Linked DNA regions of Homo sapiens: regions 2, 3, 4 and 5 are each linked to region 1. Evidence: promoter capture Hi-C in 16 types of primary human blood cells and fetal thymus (Javierre and others, 2016). All regions are on one chromosome and are shown on one strand. The core of a region is centred on a gene start or on the middle of the fragment in contact, and the rest is flanking DNA. Distances in the headings are between cores, read along the strand shown.

Evidence for each region. The method cuts DNA at HindIII sites, captures the fragments that hold promoters and counts their contacts. A CHiCAGO score of 5 or more calls a contact.
Region 2: a fragment that was not itself captured here is called in contact with the fragment with the promoter of TEDDM1 in region 1 in 5 of 17 cell types (M0 macrophages, M1 macrophages, M2 macrophages and 2 more); the score reaches 8.0 in M0 macrophages.
Region 3: a contact is called between a fragment that was not itself captured here and the fragment with the promoter of TEDDM1 in region 1, in 17 of 17 cell types (M2 macrophages, M1 macrophages, M0 macrophages and 14 more). The highest score is 70.1, in M2 macrophages.
Region 4: a contact is called between a fragment that was not itself captured here and the fragment with the promoter of TEDDM1 in region 1, in 13 of 17 cell types (erythroblasts, activated CD4 T cells, total CD4 T cells and 10 more). The highest score is 9.7, in erythroblasts.
Region 5: a fragment that was not itself captured here is called in contact with the fragment with the promoter of TEDDM1 in region 1 in 15 of 17 cell types (neutrophils, megakaryocytes, M0 macrophages and 12 more); the score reaches 9.9 in neutrophils.

Annotation. Positions count from the first base shown.
Region 1 is chr1:182,398,641-182,402,758 of GRCh38, forward strand. TEDDM1 (transmembrane epididymal protein 1) reads right to left here and starts at 2,027. Exons shown (of 1, transcript NM_172000.4): 1 at 1-2,027. The coding sequence starts at 1,845. The coding sequence ends at 1,024. The HindIII fragment of the contact is 8,350 bases long and covers 1-4,118 here.
Region 2 is chr1:182,794,490-182,798,885 of GRCh38, forward strand. The region is part of intron 3 of NPL (N-acetylneuraminate pyruvate lyase); the gene reads left to right. Among named protein-coding and RNA genes, the nearest start is that of NPL, 6.9 kb to the left of the region's middle. The HindIII fragment of the contact is 1,435 bases long and covers 768-2,202 here.
Region 3 is chr1:182,084,898-182,089,209 of GRCh38, forward strand. No RefSeq gene overlaps it. Among named protein-coding and RNA genes, the nearest start is that of ZNF648, 25 kb to the left of the region's middle. RefSeq lists an enhancer at 426-475. The HindIII fragment of the contact is 1,820 bases long and covers 696-2,515 here.
Region 4 is chr1:182,066,172-182,070,785 of GRCh38, forward strand. It overlaps a transcript of ZNF648 not described here. Among named protein-coding and RNA genes, the nearest start is that of ZNF648, 6.8 kb to the left of the region's middle. The HindIII fragment of the contact is 2,333 bases long and covers 1,488-3,820 here.
Region 5 is chr1:182,102,476-182,106,534 of GRCh38, forward strand. No RefSeq gene overlaps it. Among named protein-coding and RNA genes, the nearest start is that of ZNF648, 43 kb to the left of the region's middle. The HindIII fragment of the contact is 5,644 bases long and covers 1-4,059 here.

The DNA of each region.
Region 1 (4,118 bases), core at 777-3,276:
CTGGCTGTGATTTGCAAGGAAAAGAAATTTGCAAAGACCCAAGAATGGTATCTGCTAAATTGCATGTGCAAGGGTGGTCATGGTGAAAAGGAAAGTTTGGGCTAGAATAAGAGTAATAAAATGAGAAGTCAGGGAAGTACCAAGCATTTGAATGCTATAAAAATGCTATAGCAGTTGAATTCTATACAAATTTAAATTATGGAAATTTGAAATGTTATTAAGTATTTAAAAAGTCTCACTTTATATGTAAAGTTTGAAATGAAGCCAATTCTTGAAAGCTGCGGAGAGAGAAGGAGGCAAAGCGAGCATAATTTCAGCCTGTATGAATTAATTATAAATTCTATCATGCTATTTCCACATGGTGGCACCACTTTGGTGAGCACGTAAAGTACCCACTTTTCTTTATCAAGATGAGATTTGAATGGGTCCAGTTTTGAGTTGTGAGAAGTCTTTATTCCCTCAGGTAAAAGGCAATCCCTTGTGCCTGATGACGCTAATGACAGCATAACTGCTAGACTCTGTTCTCCTCCCTTCACAGCTCTTCCTTTTGTTGCATTCTCTTCCCCCAGTGGCTTTTCTTGCACACTAAGAAGAAGTGTTCTCCTCGTCCTTTTCCCTCCCTCCCGCAAATCCCATCAGCGTCTCTTTCTCAATCCCTCTCCCCTTATCTTCTCAGTAATTAGAGGCTCAGGGACAGAAAATGCACCAGCACGGGCATGGTGGCAGGCTCCTGTAATTGCAGCTACTCGGGAGGCTGAGGCAGGAGAATCGCTTGAACTCGGGAGGCGGAGGTTGCACTGAGCTGAGATTGTGCCATTGCACTCCAGGCTGGGCAACAGAGCGAGACTCTGTCTCAAAAAAAAAAAAAAAGAAAAGAGAAGAAAAGAAAATGAACCAGCAGACGGGACCAACTGCTAGCCTTCAAGGCCATTACCTTTACCAAGGAGGGTACCATGCTCGTGGCTGAGGAGCCAACAGGAGGAAGATGAGGTGGACGATGTGCCAGCCACTGTAGGCCCTGTCTCAGGGGGAGCTCTTTGGAAGGAGGAGAGCCTGGTCCTCTTTCTCTGACTGCTCCACTTCCTGTAGCAACTTGTAGAGGGGTCCTGGAGTGCTTGCATAATATGGAGCTTCTTTGGGCCCAGTCAGCTTCAAGCTGGGTCTGAAACAATGATACCAAAAGGAAGAGAAGCCATAGATTCCCAACAGGAATGAGGCATTGATCATCACATGCCAGCAGAAGAAGGTGGTGACAAACATGATGTCACTGATGTCATCGTCCTGCCATGGGTAGCCAGAGACGGGTCTGTATAGAATAAAGCCTGCCTGCATCAGCCAGGAGCCCATCATCAGAATCAGAAAGGTCTCCATCAGCTGGAGATGACACATGTTGGGAGCCCACAGCTCTGCAGTCAACACCAGCAACAGCAGGAACACCACCAAGATGAGCAGAGAATAAACGTGCAGCTCCACCCCTTCTGAATCTTTAACATGTGACACCATCAGCAGCAGGAGCTCGTAGATGATCAGGACCAGGGTACCTTTTTCTAGGCCCACACACCTCTGAGGCAGCACATTCTTGCTCATGAAGTCCACACAGCCATTAAGAGTGAGGAGGATGAACATGGTGAGGTGCTGCCACTCTTTGGGGTACATGAACCTTGATGGCACTTGCTTCCTCATGAGCACCATCCCGCCATCAAGACAGAGAACCACATAAAATGTTAAGAGGGAGCCAGTCACTATCTTTAGTAATCCTCCATAGGCTATTTTCCACAGCCTGGCACATCTTTGCTTATTCCTGGGAGAGCACAAAGGATACAGGAGACAACCTTTGAGTATCATGCCCTTGGAGACCACTGTGGCCTGATATAGTCCATAAGAGAAAAGAAATAGCCCCAGTTAAAAATGGCCAATGGACTTTCCCATGGAATACAGGCCTGTCCGACTGAAGCGTGAAGAGCAATACTCAGGACCTCTCTGCTCTCCTCTCCCTCACAGGCCTCTCGAGTTCTGGGCCTATATATACAGAGCTAAGTTCTACCTACTTTTATCATCTCCTTCTGCCCACTGCTCTCTCACAGACTGGAAAGTTCTGGACAGGAGCCTAGGTTTTTAGTGAGGTGGGTCTCATTGTTCCATTTCATTCCAGTACACTGGGAACTAATTGAGTTCTGCCAAAGTAGAAACATAAATATTTTTTAGTATGCACCTGTGGGAATTTGTGCTCTCAGGAGCTCTGCTTTTGGACCCTTGAGGACCTTCTGGTTACACTTGTCCCTCTCTCTCATGGCTTGCTTCCTTCTGCCCCTGTTCAATGCTCGGAGTAGAAAAAGAGAGGTGCCTGAGCACGGAGATTATCCAGAGAAGACCCGGGTTACTCACAAACCTTAATGCATCCTTTAAGACTCCTTACTCGGACAGGCATGGTGGCTCAAGCCTGTAATCCCAGCACTTTGGGAGGCCAAGGCAGATCTCGAGGTCAGGAGTTCGAGATCAGCCTGGCCAACATGGTGAAATCCCATCTCCACTAAAAATACAAAAACTAGCTGGGCATGGTAAAGAGTGCCTGTAATCCCAGCCACTTGGAAGGCTGAGGCAGGAGAATTACTTGAACCCGGGAGGCGGATGTTGCAGTGGGCCAGGATCATCTCACTACACTCCAGCCTGGGTGACAGAGCGAGACTGTCTCAAAAAAAAAAAAGACTCCTTACTCATATGTTGGGTCATATACTGAGAGCAAATACATTCTTCCTAGACATAAAAGTTTATAAACGTTTGGATGTGTGCTCATATATATAGATACTGAGCTCTTGTCCTCTTCATTCTTCTGTAACAGTTTTTGGGGATCACAAAGAAAGCAGCTCAATTGCCCCAAATTATCTTTCCAAAGAACAGTAGATGAATGTAAAATGTCACCTTTTGAGATCAATTTTGGAATGTTAAGGTATAATTTTTTATTAAAATGCAGATATGTTGAGATAAGTAGATCCAACAAACTGCTTATATTTTAATGTGAATTAGGTCCTCAACTTTATTCTCTCTTTAATTATCATTTACTATGTGTCTAACACATATAGGCAGAAAGAGTTCTAAGCACTAGGTAGCAGCCAGCTGCATATGAGGGGTTGCATCCAAGGCAAGAGTCTTCATTTATTTATTTTTATTTCTATTTTTATTTTTATTTTTAGACAGTGTCTCGCTTTGTTGCCCAGGTTGCAGTGCAGTGGCTTGATGACGGCTCACTGCAGCCTCAACCTCCTGAGCTCAATCAATCCTCCTGCCTCAGCTGCTGAGTAGCTGGGACAACAGACATGAGCCACCACATCCAGCTATTTTTTGTAGAGATGAGGTCTCACTACATTGTCCATGCTGGGTCTCAAACTCCTGGGCTCAAGTGATCCACCCACCTCAGCCTCCCAAAGTACTGGGATTACAGGCGTGAGCCACCGTACCTGGCCCCATTTATTTATTTATTCATTATTTTTTATTTTTTAAAATGAAAGCACATTTATTAAGAAAAAAAGGAATAAAAGAATGGCTACTCTATAGGCAAAGCAGCCCCCATTTATTTTTTTTATAAAAATTAATGTCTATATAGCCCCTCCTTATCCATGGGTGATACTTTCTAAGACTCCCAGTGGATGCCTGAAACCTGGGATAGGTTAGTACTGAACCCTACATATACTGGTTTCCCCATACATGTATACATACCTATAATAAAGTTTAGTTTACAAATTAGGCACAGCAAGAGATTAGCAATAATAACTCAAAATAAAATAGAACAATTATAAAATGATGCTGAAATAAAAGTGTGAATATAATTTCTCTCTCTCTCTCTCAAAATACTATAATATTTTCAGACTGCAGTTAACTGTGAGTAACTGAAACCTAAGAACATGAAACTGCAGGTAAGGGAGGACTACTGTATTTAAAGTGTACCACATTTTTTGTTTGTTTGTTTTTTGTTTTGAGACTGAGTCTGTCTCTGTTGCCCAGGCTGGAGTGCAGTGGCACGATCTCAGCTCACTGCAACCTCTGCCTGCTGGGTTCAAGCAATTCTCCGGACTCAGCCTCCCGAATAGTCGGGACTACAGGTGCATGCCACCACACCGCTT
Region 2 (4,396 bases), core at 235-2,734, 400 kb after region 1:
GGAGAGAAGTTCTTTGTAACAACAGTCACTTAAGACCCTGCACCTCTGTAGAACTGTTGCCAAAAGGCAGCTTCTGTCTGTCATCCCTCTGCACTGTCTCTGATCCCCAAGTCTGAGGAGGCATTATATCTCTGACCCCAAAGTCAGAGAAGCACTATATCACCTTGCAGAAAGGGAGAAGGTGAGAAATGGCAGCTTGCCTTTCTCCCAGTGTCTGTAGCACCACAGAGCAAATTCTCCTTGGATTTCACCACAGCCTTGGCCTTTCTAAACAGGGCCAGTAGCATTGGATGAGAATCCCATTTTAGCATAATTGGATATCAAGCACTGACCTAGGCCCTCTCAGGATGCTGTCTCTGGACGTCAGCATGATTCCACTTCAGGCTGTTCATAGACTTGATAAAAATGTCCTACCCTGAGGAAAGTGGGAGGTTATCTGCAAGATGGACTCTTTTTTCCTGTTTACAGCCTCATTTCAACATTGACTAGATGTTGGGCAGCGGGGGAAGGGAAGTAACAACAGTCCGTTGTTGACTAATCATTACCCCAAGCAAGTATTTTGACCTCCAGATGAATACAGTGGCAGTCCTTCTGCTAAAAAATCAGATAACAAAAAGGCCCTGTGACATAGGGAGCCATGCACTGTGTATAACTCCTCCTTGAACATCACCCCTGACAAAAGAGAGTTCATCCACCTCCTGGATCTATATGTTTTTGACCTGTCAGAGGAGTCAGGCTGCCAAAAAGTTAGAATGCTGGCTTATTTAAGCTTCTCCTTTCTTTCTATGTAATATTATAATAATAATCATACCTACATAATGAATTATAAGCATTAAATGAGATAATTCATACAACAGTGCTTGGCACAGGGTCAATACGCACTTAGGTCAAAAAGTTTGAACTGCCTTTATGTCATAAGGCAGAGGCAAAAGGAAGATGTATTTAGTACACCTTTTACAAGGGACTTTCTTTTTGGTCTTCTGTTGCTGAATTTATAAACGTTCATCTTACCCTTTTAAAGGAGATGAAATTTCTCATGTCTTTTAGTATTCTCCTTCAAAGTTGGCCATTTTGCAGTTCTACCTTAGAGACTCTCCAATGAGTCCAAGACTTCTGGCTTCTAAGATCCATGAAAAATCACGTCCTTACTAGGTCTAAATAAGATTCTTGCTGATACGGCATTTAGATTACTCAGCTGGTTAATAATAATTTTTTTTCTGTTACTTCCCCTTTCCACAAGTTTTAAGAAAGACTGGCATCAGCTGTTTCTCAATGCATCAGTCACTTGTTCGCAGATCAAACAGAAGACATGTGATTGCATGAATCGGCAGGATTTACTTCCTGTTACAGAGTGAGATCCTTTCTGTAATCTCCTAACACTGCATCTGGTCCATACTACTTTAACCTTTTAATAAGACCCCTCTTATCCTGGAAGTGGCTTCTTAAAACAGTCTTGTTTGTTCATCAGGGACCCACGGACAATGTCAGTGTGTTCTTCCTCCCTGTTTTGCCGTTTTCCTGGAAGGCCAGATCCCATGATAGAGATAACTAAAATGACTTTTTCTGGATCTTTTTCCGTTTCCCAAAAATCTGTGGTCCTGCTGCATCCATTTTACTATTTTCTCATCAATTCTGCGTTTTTCTTCTAGGAACCTTACTTTCCTAAGGTGTGAAATCAAAAAAAAAAAAAAAAAAAAGAATGCATTATGTGTAGGCTCTTTAAGAAATAAATAGTGTAGGTCAGTGTATAGCACAGAGTAGGCATGTGAGCCATGTTAGTTCCCTTTTCTCCCACCACCTGCTTCATCAAACATTCCTGTAGGTATAAAGTAGCTTTGGAACACCCACCAAGAACACGTAGGCTTTAATGTACTTACCCACAAGGGAATCTGCACTTCTGGCATGTTTCTAAGACATGAGATGGAAGGAAGGGGCACATGGAATCTAATACCTGGAAATACTGCCAGGTGACCTGCCATTGTGGGAGTTCTCCTAACCTGGCATGTACATATACATATCCTCCATAATTCTGAGTGGCTGAACAAGGACTATTTCCCTATATCCTTTTTTCTTCTCAATTCCAATGAAAGCTCAGTAACAATTCAGCTTTCTGCATATAAGTTGATGTCCTGGAGTAGGGTAGCTGGCAGAAAGAACATGGGTAAGTAGATCTTAGTGAAATGATGTGAGTCCTGGATCCCAAGCTTTGCCACTAGTTAGCTCTCCGACCCTGGGGAGATCTTGTCACCTTTTGAGAGCTCTCTCGGCCGGGCACGGTGGCTCATGCCTGTGATCCTAGCACTTTGGGAGGCCGAGGTGGGCGGATCACAAGGTCAAGAGATCGAGACCATCCTGGTCAACATGGTGAAACCGCCTCTCTACTAAAAATACAAAAATTAGCCTGGCGTGGTGGCGCACACCTGTAGTTCCAGCTACTTAAGAGGCTGAGGCAGGAGAATCGCTTGAACCTGGGATGCAGAGGTTGCGGTGAGCCAAGATCATTCCACTGCACTCTACCCTGGGCAACAGAGTGAGAATATGTCTCAAAAAAAAAAAAAAAAAGCTCTTTCATATTCTCCAAAGGAAGTTCAACCACATTATCTCTATGACCCTTTCCAACTCTTAAGAGTCTGCAGTCCTCTCATGTCATTGGGGATATTGTGGGGATCACCATTAAATAAGAATGTATAAAGTACCTATAATTCCAGTCCATCGTCCACACTGTAGCTCAGTGAGCTTCCTAGTAAATAAATCTGATCATGTCACTCTCCTCTTTAGGAATCTTGACTCTCTTTTGTCTAAGCCTTGCTACCCATCATATGGCCCATGGACCAGTTGCTCCACCACCATGGGAACTTGGTAGAAATGCACAAGCTCGGGCTGTATCATACTACAGATCAGTCCTGCATTTTAACAGTGTCCCAGATGATTCTTTAGCGCATTAAAGTCTGAGATGAGCCGGTCTAAAGATTAAAGCCCAGACTCCCTGGGATGGCATAGGAAGTCCTCACAGTTTACCTTTCCTGCTTCATTTCTTTGTCACCATACCTCTTCTGCCTTTCATGCCTTCACTCATTCTCTTTCCTCTGCCTTTTTCTACCACCATCTTCTTCTTTCTTGCTCCACTTGAACACTTCTACTCATCTATCAAAACCATCCTTAGAAATTCTTCCCCAATTCTCTTAAAAGGAGTTAGATGACCCTTCTATAGCACCCTGTCCATACTCTTCCCCTGTGATCCCATAGCACCCTTTTTGTATTGCATCAGAATTATTTGTTTATTATTACAATAACTTTTTGTTACTTGTCTATGTCTTCCAGCAGGCTTTGAGCTGCTTAGCCCTGTTCAATAGATATTGAATGCCAATAATATACAAGAACTGAGAAATTATCTTATTTATCTTATATCTTAAGCATGTGGCATAGTTGTGGTAGCTTTTGTTATTTTATGAGTGAATATACTGCAGGAATTACTAGTGCTGATAGTCGAGAAAAAGGGAAGGAAGCAAACACTGATTGATGCTATGTCAGTCATCATGCAGGCATTTTCATTTACATGTTCCCACTTAATCTTGACAACAGCTATGTGAGGGAGCCATAGGTATCTCTGTCCTGGCAGTTGAAGAAACGGAGATCCTAAAGGCTAGCCCAGCTGCCCCAAGCCACACAGCTAGAAAGGTAGGATTTCTCTACCTATCCAACCCTTGCCTTTTTATACACTAGTAAGTCTAATGAAAGACTTGCTTTTTTTTTTTTTTTTTTTGAGACAAAGTCTCGCAGCAGGCGGGAGTGCAGTGGCACAATCTCGACTCACTGCAACATCCCCCTCCCAAGCTCAAGTGATTCTCCTGCCTCAGCCTCCCGGGTAGCTGGGATTAGAGGTATGCACCACCCTGCCCGGCTAATTTTTGTGTTTGTAGTAGAGACGGGGTTTCATCATGTTGGCCAGGCTGGTCTCAAACTCCTGACCTCAAGTGATCCGCCCGTCTCGGCCTCCCAAGGTGCTGGGATTACAGGCATGAGCAGCTGCGCCAGCCAAGACTTGCTTTCCTTATTTGTTCTAAGAACTCACTTTTTCTTTGGGCAGGCTCACAGTCATTAGACCAGAAAGTCCATTTCAGATCTAAAATGTCGAGAAAAAAGTTGTGTTTTTTCCCTCAAATGTTCTTGGCATCACCCTGGGGAATCTTCACAATACCCTCTGGTAAAAACAAAGCTGTTACCCCAGTGAGGAAAGGCCTGGCCTGCTAGAGTCAGACTGGCATAGATTATTGTCTTTTTAACAGTCTTTGGGAGACGAGGGGACCCAGACTCCCAGAACAGAACATTTTCCACCTCCAACAGGGTGGGCAGGTTAGTCCCTGCCTGCCTCCCTGCTGAAAGAATTTTAAAATAA
Region 3 (4,312 bases), core at 356-2,855, 310 kb before region 1:
CTAGTGGCTTCCCAGGGAAGATAGACTTAAACAAGAGGCACCAAAAGAGGCGCGTGTTTGGGGGACATTCCACTTCCTAGAATAAGATATTCAAACGCAGAGCCAGAGAAGGAGGACAGGGAGGCCTCTCCCGGCTCCCTGCCTCTATTTACACCAGGCATTCAGAGTGGGGGACAGTTCTAAGACTGACCAGGAGGTGGCAGCGTTGCCCCTTGGATGAGGGACTCCCTTCAGCAGGACAGAGGCAAAGGACACCGCCTCTCTAGCTCTGGGAGGAAGTCACCAGGAGGCCTCCCCTAGGCCAGTCTCAGAGGGCCAGGATGCCAGCTGCCTTGCACACAGTAGGGATCTATAGCCATGTGTGGATCCAACGTGGTTTTGTTTGTTTGTTTTTGAGACAGAGTTTTGCTCTTGTTGCCCAGGCTGGAGTGTAGTGGTGCGATCATGGCTCTCTGCAACCTCCGCCTCCTGGGTTCAAGTGATTCTTGTGCCTCAGCCTCCTGAGTAGCTAGGACTACAGATGCCCGCCACCACATCCGGCTAATTTTTGTGTTTTTAGTAGAGACAGGGTTTCACCATGTTGGCCAGGCTAGTCTCGAACTCCTGACCTCAAGTGATCCTCCTGCCTCTGCCTCCCAAAGTGCTGGGATCATAGGCGTGAGCCACCACACCCAGCCCCACATGTTCTTATTCTAAGCTTTGCTAGGGGCTTTGCATGGGAAAGGAAGGAAGGAAGAGTGGGAGAGAGGGAGGGAGGGAGAGAAGGGACTCAGGCCTTAACCTAGAACCCCTGCATCAGAGTCTCTTGGATGGTTCCTGGGAATCCTCAGGTGATTCTGATGGAGGCAGGCACAATTCTCCCTTGTGTGACTAATTTCCCAAGGCCTCGCCTTTCAATCACAGAACTGATTTTATCCATTGTGAAAACCTAATGCAGACCCCAGCGCACGCCTCCTGCTCTCCCTCAGCTGGGAGGCTGACCGAGGTATTTTAGGCATCCCGCCAGAGATGGCTGCTAGGTTGCAAAGACAAGCAGTGCCCTCCTGGGCACAGCCCTATGCCCCCCAGTGGGCACTCCCTCTCTCCTTCTCATCCTATCTTCAGCTTTGGCATGAGTGGCTGGCCTGACACAGCCCACCTCACCCCAGCAGTGGCGCCCCAGGCTGAGCTTCAACCCAACTCTTGGGTAAGCAGCAGGGAAACTGAGGAGTATTTCACAGTTAGTCTCTGTCCCCTCTCAAACAGGCAGTATTTTCAGGAGTCCTTCGTGACATTGAGGCCTGTGGGGGACATCTTGATGTTGACTGGGGGCACACGTTGGCAGGGCTACCCCCATGTGGAAAATCTTGGCTGGGGTGGCGGGCTTTTGGTTTTAACAACAAGTGACTCAATTGTTGTCCCTTCTTCCTGCAGCCTCCCCAAGTCACTGCCCACAGATGGCCCTGGGCAGAAAGTGGTCAAAGAGAGTGAAGCCCGGGGGAGGAAAGCTCGGGTGCCCATGGCGCCCACTGGATGGCTGGCCTGGTTGGGACCCACTCTGGCGGGGCCAGCTCCTGGTGGTTCCCTGCACATCCATCCACTGTTTCCCATCTACACTCTGCCAGAAAGTCCTTCCTCTCCTGACCCCGCCATCCAAACCCTATGTGTTTCAGGAAATCATTTTTCAGATGCTACCTGGGGACTCCTGCAGCTGCTGTGCATTTTCTTGGAATCTCTCATGGAACCATGCATGATGACTGTTTCTACATCTCTGCATGGGAAGGAACTCAGGGATAGAGGGCACCCCGTTCCATCCCCATCCCAGCCCCTAGTGCAGGGGAAGAGAGCCGTGGATGTTAACTATTGTGAGTACATGACGGGAAGGAGAAGGTGGTGGCGCCTCAGGGTTGACAGGAAGGGACAGGAAGGTTTCATCATGGAGGCAGGAAGGGGGCCGGGCCCTGAAGGATGGATTCCATTTCTAGGTGAAAGTCACCAGCATGTTATCAGAGCGTCCTTCTTAAGTAGAGTCAGAGCTGCGCTATTTTGAGTGGAATGAAGGTGGTCTGTGGGTTGGAAAGGCCAGTCATGATCCCCAGTCCATTTTGTGGGTGCCCCTGGTTGATCCCTAAGACAACTTCCTGGAGTGTGTGCATTGACCACAGATGTCAGGGCCTGGGCTTCTCTCCTGAACCCAGTTCACACCAAAAAAGGACATGAAGGACAAGGACCAAGAGAGGGCTGGAGGCAGAAGTGCTCTCAGAGCGGACACAGGGTCCCACCCCAATCCTTGTGCCTGAAGCAGAGTTGCAGTGTGGCCGCTACTGGCACCAGTACAGCAAAGCAACACCCTAAAATCAAAGCGGGAACAGCAGGAGATGGAGCCCGTGTCTTTGAGGACCTCAGAGGCAGAACTTCTGGTTGGGGCCTGAGGACTTTTGCACTCTCCTGAGCACCCTTGCCTTTTCTTGCCACCGCAAGGGAGATGTTATCTTCAGACTCTGGGGCTATTGCAAGCTGCTGCTCTTCCATGAAAAGCTTGGGGCCTTTGCTCAGTGAAGTCAGGATGTTTTGAGATTACAGGGAGGGTGGAGGAAACAGGAGGGCCCACAGGGTGGGTGAAAAACCTCATTCTCCGCCCTCTCAGCTCCACCCTGCATGCACTACCAGCATTCTCAAGGCTTCCTTCTCAGTTTGTGTAAGACAAGGAAAGCCTGAACCAGGGATTCCCCTCTCAGCCACCCCAGCTGCAGCCCCTGAGGGTGGGTGTGCATGCAAGGGACAGGGTGGGGAGCCACAAGCTCATCTTCCACCCCTCCACAGCTCATCTGGCCTTGCCTCTATTGCTTGGGGAAAATGGCACCTTGAGGACAGAGTATGCCTTGCTTTCTCCTAGGAGAATGTTCTCTTTCTGTACTCGCTGATGGAGCTCTAGCTAAAAAAAGTATATTTCCCTGCCTTTTCTTTCTTCCTCCTTGAGGGCCTCTCTGTAGACTTTATCAGGCCACACTGATGAGCTCAGAACAGAAAAGTTATGGCTATATGGGAGCAGGCTCCTCCCTCATAGCTCCTGGTCAGATCTGGACATCTGGGGCAGCCGCGGATCAGAGCCCCAGGCTGGCCCTGGACCAGACCCCTGCTCCTCTGTCCCAGGCTGGCCCACTGCCTCCATGAGTCACTAAGGTAACCAGGAGGGCAACCACAGGGGAAAACAACCACCCTTATTGCCCCAGGTGGCAGTCCCAGCCCAGGGCAAAACTGGGGCATTACTTCAACTGTACCAAAGTCAGGCCTGTGCCTGGGGCTGCAGGAGGCGGCTGCAAAGAGGCTGGGCGGGGCAGCAGGAAGCCCTGTGGAACTTGCGTGTGTCCTGACTTGCCATTTCTGATGTCAGCACCTTCAGATGCCCTTTCATGGGGTAGGAACTGGGAAGGGCAGAGGTAGTAACATCTGAACAAAGCTGGGTGAATTCCCACGGAAGACGGAGCATCGAGTCGTCAATGCCTTTTGGTAAACAAGTCGCAGCTCTTCCGTCTTGGCTCATCCTCATGGGCACATCCCAGTGGTGTTCCCTGCCCACCTCTGCACCCACATTTTAAGGTGTGTAATCTGCCTCCAGCTCTGTCCTCCCCACCTCAGAGCCTTAGGATCTCTGGCTCTGACATTCAGTGCAATGTGTGCCGCCTGGTAGGCGCTCAGCGTTTTGAGTGAAAGAATAAATGTTTAGGTTTCCAGCAGCACCCCGTGCTGCTGGGATCACAGAGTGGCTGCTAAACCCAGGGTGTTGATTTGAGTGCCCAATGGGTGCTCCTCCGAAAGTAAGGGAAGTGACCCTGTGGAGCTGTGGCAGAGGTCGCATCCCCTGAGTTGCTGACCTTGCAGAGAAGCACAGGGTGCTCCTGCCTGTGGGTTGGGTGAAGCACCGTGTATATCTTTATCTCTGCTTGGGGGCCTGTTTCCTCCCCTTGACTTGTGCCTCCTCAATAGCAAGCCCGAGTCTCATTTAAGCTTTGAATTCTAGCACAGAGCTGGGCCCATCCATTAGATGAAGTGTGTTTACAAGTCTGTTCCGGAGTCGGTGGTGCTCCTGCTGCTTCACCTGGGCTCAGGACACCGAATACAAGATGCGGTTTCAGGATCTGGAATCCGCAGAGCCAGTGGGCTCCATAACCTGGGTCTGGGTGCCATGGCTAGCATCGTTGGCTGTAAGGAAGCTGTTCTGGCAGTTCTTGATGGCCGCTTCCCTAGCATCTCTGTGACAGGAGCCCTGAGAGAGGTCCTCTTCCTCCCTTTCCTTAACATCTGCCCTAGAGCTCGGCTGAGCTTCCCTGGG
Region 4 (4,614 bases), core at 1,404-3,903, 330 kb before region 1:
CCCGCCTGTCTGGGAAGAGGAAAAAGCAGAGACTGAAGGAGTAACACAAGGCATCTGGGAGAGAGAAGGGCATTTGATGGGCATGGTGCAGGAGCTCATTTGTGCCTATCAATGACATGGACTGGATGGGTGGAGTGGAGTGACGTGGTGGAACATGAGCCACACTGGCCTATGTTCTTCCCCATGCTCTGCTGCCAGCTGTCATCACAGCAATCTGCCTGAGCTGCTTCCAAACAGTGTGAATGGTTGGTGAGGTATACTATCTAATCTTCTTCTTGCCCCAGCCCTTCATCATCCTTGAGGAGGAGTGATAGAGGCAGTTAAGTGGCCAATACATGGTGGAGACTTTAAATATTGTTTTTCATGCAGGCATCAAACTTTGCTGAGTATGAATACACATGCAGAAAGCAGAATTGGACAGGAACTCAGTACACAACCTTGAGTCAGAAAGGCCTGGCTTTAATCCCATTTCTGTTTGTTTGATGATCTTGGTCCATTTACTTAACTTCTTTGAGCCTCATGCTCCTCACCCATAAAATGGGAATAAGAATAATTTCATGATAGGGTTGTAAAATAATCTGAAACCACATTTTAAAAGCATTTGGTCTAGTGTTAGCTGTATAGTCATTTTTCAATAAATTATAAGCCTTATTATTTTTATCCTAGAGCTATTGGGAGCTTGCTGATACCTTTGCTCCATCCCTGTTCTTCCAGAATGCTAGCCCTTAATTACTCTGCTTCCAGAAGGGTGCCATTCTCTGATTCTGGTCTCCTAGCCCCAAACATTCCCACTGAGAGACTGACCAAGCAGCCTTTTTTGAGGCCAATAACGTTCCTAGAGCAGTGATGTCATAAACCTGGGTCTGTCATCGCGTGCTACACTTGGCACACGTGGCAATCAGTGACAGAGTGGAAGGTTTGTGCTCTGGATGGGATGACATTATAAGGCAATGACATCACATGTCAGTACTTCCTGGCACCCCCTGCAGAACAGTGCCAGGTAGAATGCCTTCTCTTCACTAACTCAACACCACCTGCCCCAGTGAAGACTGCACAGTGTAGTGATGGAGCATACAGGCTCTGACATCAGGCTACTTGGGTAAATCCTATTTCTACACCCTGCATGACTGTGAGCAAGTTGCTTAACCTTTCTGTGCCCCAGTTTCTTTGTCTGTAAATTATGGCTAATAATAATATTTAATATCTAGCTTACAGAGTTGTTGTGGGGTTTAAATGAGATGATGTGCTTTGCAGAGTACAAGGGATGGACAAGTGCCCAATCAGTATTAGCTAACAATATAATATGGGGTAGGAAGGCACCTCTACCTCCTGTCTAAACAGCAGAGAACCCAGAGAACCCACCTCTGGTCTCCACTGGAACCTTTTCCTCAAACTTTCTGAAGCCCTTACTCAGTATAACCAGGTCCTACTGAGGCAGTGGTCTCTGGAGCCACTTCTGGAGCTCACCAGAAGACCAGCCCTTTCCAAGCTTCTCAAGACCTACATTGCACTATAGTGACCCTGCCAGATGACCCTGGAAGCCTCTGGCCCAGGCCGAGGGAGCATAAGCTGCAAGCAGTGGGTTGGGCTTCACTGCAAGCAGTTGGATGGGTTCATGGAACCCTCAGGGTACAAGAGGCTGAAGATTCAAATTGTCTACTGACATAGCAGCATATTATCTTGGCCCACACTGACTACCACATCTTTCAAGGCCACAGAGACTTCAGGCCTCCACTCCTCCACATTCCACCTCAGCCTTGGGACCTTGTAGAAAACTGAGGAAGAACACCACAAATGAGACTTCTGGGAATCTTCTATACCTTAGGTTTACGTTCTGACTTTACTGGTCCTTCTGGGCTCAGGGATAGAAGGTCTGGGGAGGTTAGAAGGGAAGATACTGCTTATCTTTACGTAATAAACACATTGAAAAAGAACCCTCTGATCTCTTGTATCAGTGGGAATCCCTTGAACTGAGGCTTACCAGAGCCCAGGGGCATGATGAAGCTGTTGGAAATTTAAAAACAAAGGCATCGACCTCAGTATTTTTAATGAAGAGATCTAAGAAATTATCTAGTGCAGCCCCTCTGTTTTACTGGTGTTGAGATTGAAGTATTCATTTATTTGTTCGATCATTCATTTACTCACCAAACATTTGTTGAGCTTTACTATGTCAGTGTTTTTCAGACTGCAGGACACAATCTGTGAATATGACAGGGAATCACTTTAGTGAGCCACAACCAACATTCTTTTTTAGAATAGAACAGAAGACAGTAGAATATATCAAAGTGTCTCACACATAAAAGTATAGTTTCATGTAATTTTTGTTTTAGGTTTATAAACATAGTCTGGGGGTATATAATGAAGACTGTATCTCATAGTCTGGTTTGCTCTGATTCTTGGTCAAACACAGTTGAAAAACATTGTACATTGCATCAACCCTGCTGTACATAAGAATAATCTGGGGCCAGGTGCAGTGGCTCATGCCTGTAACCTGTAGTCCCAGCACTTTGGGAGGCTGGGGCGGGAGGATCCCTTGAGCCCAGGAGTTCGAGACCAGCCTCGGCAACATAGGGAGACCTCACCTTCACAAAGAATTTTTAAAAATTAGCTGGATGTGGTGGCACACACCTGTGGTCCCAGCTACTCAGGAGGCTGAGGCAGGAGGATCAGTTAAGCTCAGGCTACAGTGAGCCATGATCAAACCACTGCACTCCAGGCTGGGCAACAGAGTGAGACCGAGTCTCAAAGGAAAAAGAAAAGAAAATTTTCCTCTCTGTTCTTAGAAGAAAGAAAGAAAGAAGGGAGGAACAAAGGAAGGAAGGAAGGAGAGAGGAAGGGAAAGGCAGGGGGCTCGCCACCGTCCAGAATTCTCCCCCATATTCCCTGATCCTTGCTTACCGCCTTGGGCAGGTGCTGTCTCTTTCTCTCTGGACCAGGCTGGAGCCTCCCGGCTCTCTGGCTCCCCCTTTGGCTCCCTGGAACATTGCCGCTGGGAGCCTGGCTTCTGACACAGCTGCGGAGCTCCTGGCTCCGCTGTCCTCCCAGGTCACACCACCTACATGCGCTGGCCAGGGTACAAGGGGCCTTTTCTTTCCAAGGCCCCCATCAAAACCACACGCCTCTCCTCGCAGCTGTCTAGCTCGGCTGCCTGAACACAGAGGTAATTCACAGGAGATGTGGAAGGGCATTTGAGGTTTCCATAAAAACATACTCCCTTTTCCTCTTTCAACTGCTGCACTGAACGTAACCAGAGAGGACCTCTCTTCATAGCACTCTGGCCACGGGTGTGAAGCAAGTTTCTTGAAAGAAATTTCCTATAGGGCTGCTGGAGTGCGGCATCCCTCTGTAGGTGTGGATTCTCCTGGCAGGATGAGCTGTGGCCTGGTTTTGCCTATATTGAACAGTAAGCATGTCTATTCTTTGAAAAGACCATGAAAACCTCTGGCAAATCTAATGGGGAGTGGGGGCTGGGTGAGTTAAAAAGAAATAAAATATAAGTAAGGTATAAAAATATAAAGGCATACTTTGAGCAATTTTATGTCATCATGTTTGAAAACATCAATGAAGCAAATTACATTCTTGTACATATGTAGAATTGAAATCTTACATTTGGAATAAAAAGTATCAACAATCTGCTAATAGCTGGGCCTCATCAGATGAAAGTGCCTGGGCCAGACCCAGTCCTTGGCCTTGCAGAGACAAAAACTCTATTTTGACACGCTTCCCCCACCCACCTGTCACCACCTCCACCCCAGGTGCCCAGGCTAGTTAGGGAAGGGCAGAGGTGTGAGGGCTCCAGGCATGGCTACTCTGGAGAGCAAGCTTCTGCTCTTCAGCCAGGTTTTCTCACTTAGGAGGGGAGGGAGGATGAGATATGGCAGAGGCCCTTTGCACAGTGATGTGCAGTCCTTCTTTACCAGGAAAAACGGGACTGCCGAGGATCCCAGGACATTCCTGAAGGCTCACCAGCCTGGCTCTATGCATAGGACAGTGTAGACAAGTTGAACTACAGCACCAAGAGCACTGAATCAGAGCTGGGGCTGGTATCAGGAGCCTGGTGCCTCTTCTGCACCCCAAGGACACGGCTGTGTAACCGGACCCAGGTTCAGCTGCTTGCTGCTGCAAAGCCAGAGGCAAGGGGTTCTGGGAGGAAAAGCAGAGCCAGCAAACCCAGAAGATGGCAAGCTAGCATTCTAAAGTATCATCTTACATTTTATAACTTACCATAGAGTTTTTAAAGGGATATGTGGTATAGGGGACATGTGGGAGTGGTACAGGGTACTGGACTTGTGTGTCTTGTTCCGTTGGCTCTCTTGGTTAATTGCTCATCAGGAGGTCTGGTTGGTATTAGCTTGATTTTGGCTCAATTGTTCACAACTCCCCCTAAGTGGGAGGAGTGGGGCACCTGGATTGTTTCAATATTAGCCTCTGGGATTTCTTAGGTAAGAGCATAATTAGATAAGCATGCACTGGTGAGGGGATTGTCTAGAGAGGGAAGGAATGAAGGGGTAAGAGGGAAGGGAAGGAAGAAAAGGAAATGGGTGATTTTTAAAACAGAGGTTCCTGGTTATAACTGCACAGGGCCCTGTTACCTGTGGCTCCAGCTGCAGGTTT
Region 5 (4,059 bases), core at 801-3,300, 300 kb before region 1:
CCCAGGCTGGAGTGCAATGGCGTGATCTCAGCTCACTGCAACCTCCGCCTCCTGGGCTCAAGCAATTCTCATGCCTCAGCCTTCCAAGTAGCCGAGATTACAGGCATGTGCCACTACGCCCGACTAATTTTTGTATTTTCAGTAGAGACGGGGTTTCACCATGTTGGTCAGGCTGGTCTCAAACTTCTGACCTCAGGTGATCCTCCTGCCTTAGCCTCTCAAAGTTCTGGGATTACAGAGGTTGCAGTGAGCCACCACTCCCAGACTAATTGGTTTAATATCCAGTAGAGCAAGTCCTCCCAGGTTTTGTTTTTTTTTTTTTTTTTTTTTTTTTTGAGATGGAGTCTCACTCTATTGCCCAGGCTGGAGTGCAGTGGCTCTATCTCGACTCACTGCAAGCTCTGCCTCCCAGGTTCACGCCATTCTCCTGCCTCATCCTCCCAAGTAGCTGGGACTACAGGCGCCCACCACCATGCCCAGCTAATTTTTTGTATTTTTAGTAGAGACGGGGTTTCACCGTGTTAGCCAGGATGGTCTCGATCTCCTGACCTCGTGATCTGCCCGCCTTGGCCTCCCAAAGTGCTGAGATTACAGGCGTGAGCCACCACTGCCAGTTTGTTTTTATTCCAGAATGTCTTGGTTGTGTTTATCCCTTTGCATTTCCATAAAAACTTTAGAATCAGCTTGTCAATTTCCACAAAAGAAAAACTGTTATTTTCTTTCTTTCTTTTTTTTGGTTGTGGCAGGGAGATTGCATTGAATCTGTAGATCAGTTTTGGGGAAAATGATGTTTTCACATTTTTTTATTCTAATTTCCATCATGATTTCTTTGAAGTTTCAAGCATATGAGGATTTTTTAGTTATCTCTTTGTCACTTTTTCCCCGGAGAAATACTTGGAATTACTTCAATATTTTGCAATTTATTGAGACTTACATTATGACCTACCATATAGTAAATTTCTGTGAATTTTCCTTGTGTGCTTGGAAAAAAATTGTACCCTGCAATTATAGTGTGCATGTCTTGTAAGTATTCTTTAGGTCAAGTGTATTTGATTGTGTTGTTCAAATCTATATGATTAATAATGTTTGTCTGCTAGTTATACCATTTGCTGTGAGAAGTATGTTAAAAGTCTACCATTTGTGATAGTGAATTTGTTTTTCTGTTTTCTTTTGTATATTTTGAGGCTATGTTAGCAGTATGTAGAAAATTAGAATTATATTTTCCTGGTGAATTCAACTTTATCATAATGAAGTAGGTCTTTCTTATCCCCAACAGTGCCTTTTTATGGTACATGTTTAAGGTTTATACCATGCTGTTTTGATATACATATACATAGTGAAATGATTACTTATAGTTAAGCAAATTAATCTATCACTGTATATGTATATACATATATGTGTATATATACATATATGTATACATATATACATATACATGCACACACATATATTACACACACATATATGTATGTTTATATACAGATGAAGTTTGATATATACAGATGAATACTGATTACACATGTATATGCATATACATGTGTGTATATGTACACATACATATACACACATATATGTATGTTTATATACAGATGAATTTTGATTATTTCACTTTTCCCATTTATTAACTTGGAAGTTACCTGTTTTTACTAATTTTACTAATTACTAGTTTTTACTAATTCTTTTAGATGTTAATTCATTGATTTCCTCTCCCAATCATTGTTATTGTGAATTTTGATTCTCTGTACATTTTAAACTCCCCATACTTTGTACTACCGTTTTGTATGGTTGATATTTATTTAGACTCAACCACATATTTATTCTTGACTTGCTTTTCATTCTTCCCTTGATCTCCAACTTGCTAACTGAAATACTTTTTTGTTTTGTCTGAAGAACTTTTTAATGTTTTCTTCAGTTATGAGTCTGCTGGTGACAATTTCCTTGGTTTTTGTTTTAATGCAGTTTTTCTTACAAATTCTTGGCTGGGTCCTGTGGCTTACGCCTGTAATCCTACACTTTGGGAGGCTGAGGCAGGAGGATTGCTTGAGCCCAGGAGTTTGAGACCAGCCTGAGCAATATAGTGTGACCCCATCCAATACAAAAATACAAAAATTAGCCAGGTGTGTTGGTGTGCACCTATAGTCTCAGACACTTGGGAGGCTGAGGTGACCCAGGAGTCAGAGGTTGCAGTGAGCCGAGATTGTGCCACTGCCTTCCAGCCTGGGCAACAGAGAGACACCCTGTCTGAAAACAAAATGAAATCAAATAACTTAAAAAAATCTTCATTCTTGATAGATTTTTAAATTCTTATCATAACATTTTAGATGGGCAGCTATTTTATTTCAGCCTTTTAAAGATGTAATTTCACTGCCTCTTGGCTTCCACTGTTGAGAAGTCAGCTCTAAGTCTTACTGTTGCTCTTTTGAGAGTAATCTGTCCCTTTTTCTCTAGTTGTATTTGAGTTTGAAAATTTCTCAGCCACTACTTCTTCAGATATTGCTTCCATTATTTCCTCCTTTTATTTGCCTGCTGATACTCTAACTACACATATACTAGATCTTCCCACTATATCTTCTACACCTCTTACCATCTCTTGTAGACTTTCCATCCTTTTCCTCTTCATGCTTTATTCTATGATTGTCTTCTGACCTATCTTCCACTTCACAAATTTTCTCTTCAGTTGGGTCTCAACAATTGCTAAAGTTATTCATTGAGTTCTTAATTTTGACTACTATATTTTTTAATTCTAGAACTTCTTTTTGTTTCTTTTATATAGTTTCTAGTTTGCTAAGTCCTTAATCATTTATTTTCTTGAAAAAATAACAGCACATGTTATATACTTCTGTTCACCTCTATGGATATATCTTCACTCTCTCCACTCTGCTGCCTCTCCAGGAACCTGATCTGCATGGACTGTATCAATTAACTTTCTTGTCCTCTGGCTTCTAGCTGTGTTTGGCTAAAGTAAAGTACCAGTAGGACCACAGGGAAGGAGGAGAGTGAGATTCGGTACTGATTTACCTGATCTCTTCCTGTGGGGTCACTGTGGGCTGGCCACATTCCCTGACCATAGACTCTCTGTCTCTAGATTCTGATAGTTCCTCCCTCCCTGTAACTCTTCAAGCCTACAGGTGGTAAAGCCTCCTCATTGTTCATAGCCCCAGAGTATTGGACCCCATCTCTCCCCATCACAACCCATACTTTTGAAAATTATTCCTTTATTAAGGAATAATATTATCCCTCATATTATCATAGTTTGATGGTTCCATCTGTGTCTGGTTGGAAATCTGACTGACACAACATGTTTATATTATAAAATGTTTTTGGTTATTTAAATAATCAGACTCTATGTGGATCTGTAAGACTTCATGTGGATCTATTTCTACTGTCCTTGTTTCTGCTATTTTATTAGTCATATTTTCCTGTTTCATGTGGCTATTTTTTTATTTTTTTAATTTTTATGTATTTACTTTTTTTGAGATGGGGTTGAGAATGGCTAATTTTTGTATTTTTGGTGGAGATGGGGTGTTGCTATGTTGCCCAGGCTGGTCTCAAACTCCTAACCTCAAGTGATTCACCCACCTTGGCCTCCCAAAGTGCTGGGATTACAGGCATGAGCCACCGTACCTGCCCTCATGTGGCTATATTTAAATTATGTGCTAATAATTGTACGTGCAGAATTGCTTATAGAAATGTATTCTTCATTGAGAAAGGACTTACATTTGCTTTTGCCAGGCAGTTGAGATTATTGTAAACTGAAGTGTCTAGGAAGCCTTATGTAGTTCAAGTTCATTCTTCTTCAGTATCTCAACTTGAAATGGGGAGATTTACCAGCAACTCTCCTCATCTTGGCAGGCCCTAGAATATAATCCATTCCCTTAATTTAGCCTCTTACCCTTTCTCCAACCCCTCATGAATTGCCAAATGCTCCCAGGATAGAGCAGCCTTATCTTCCAATTTACCTTTTTAAGCCTCCAAATTGGTTCAGTAATTATATTCTCTCTCTTGTTGGTTCTCATTTTTTTTAAAAAAAAAAAAGTTTCTGGTTATCTTCAACAGGAA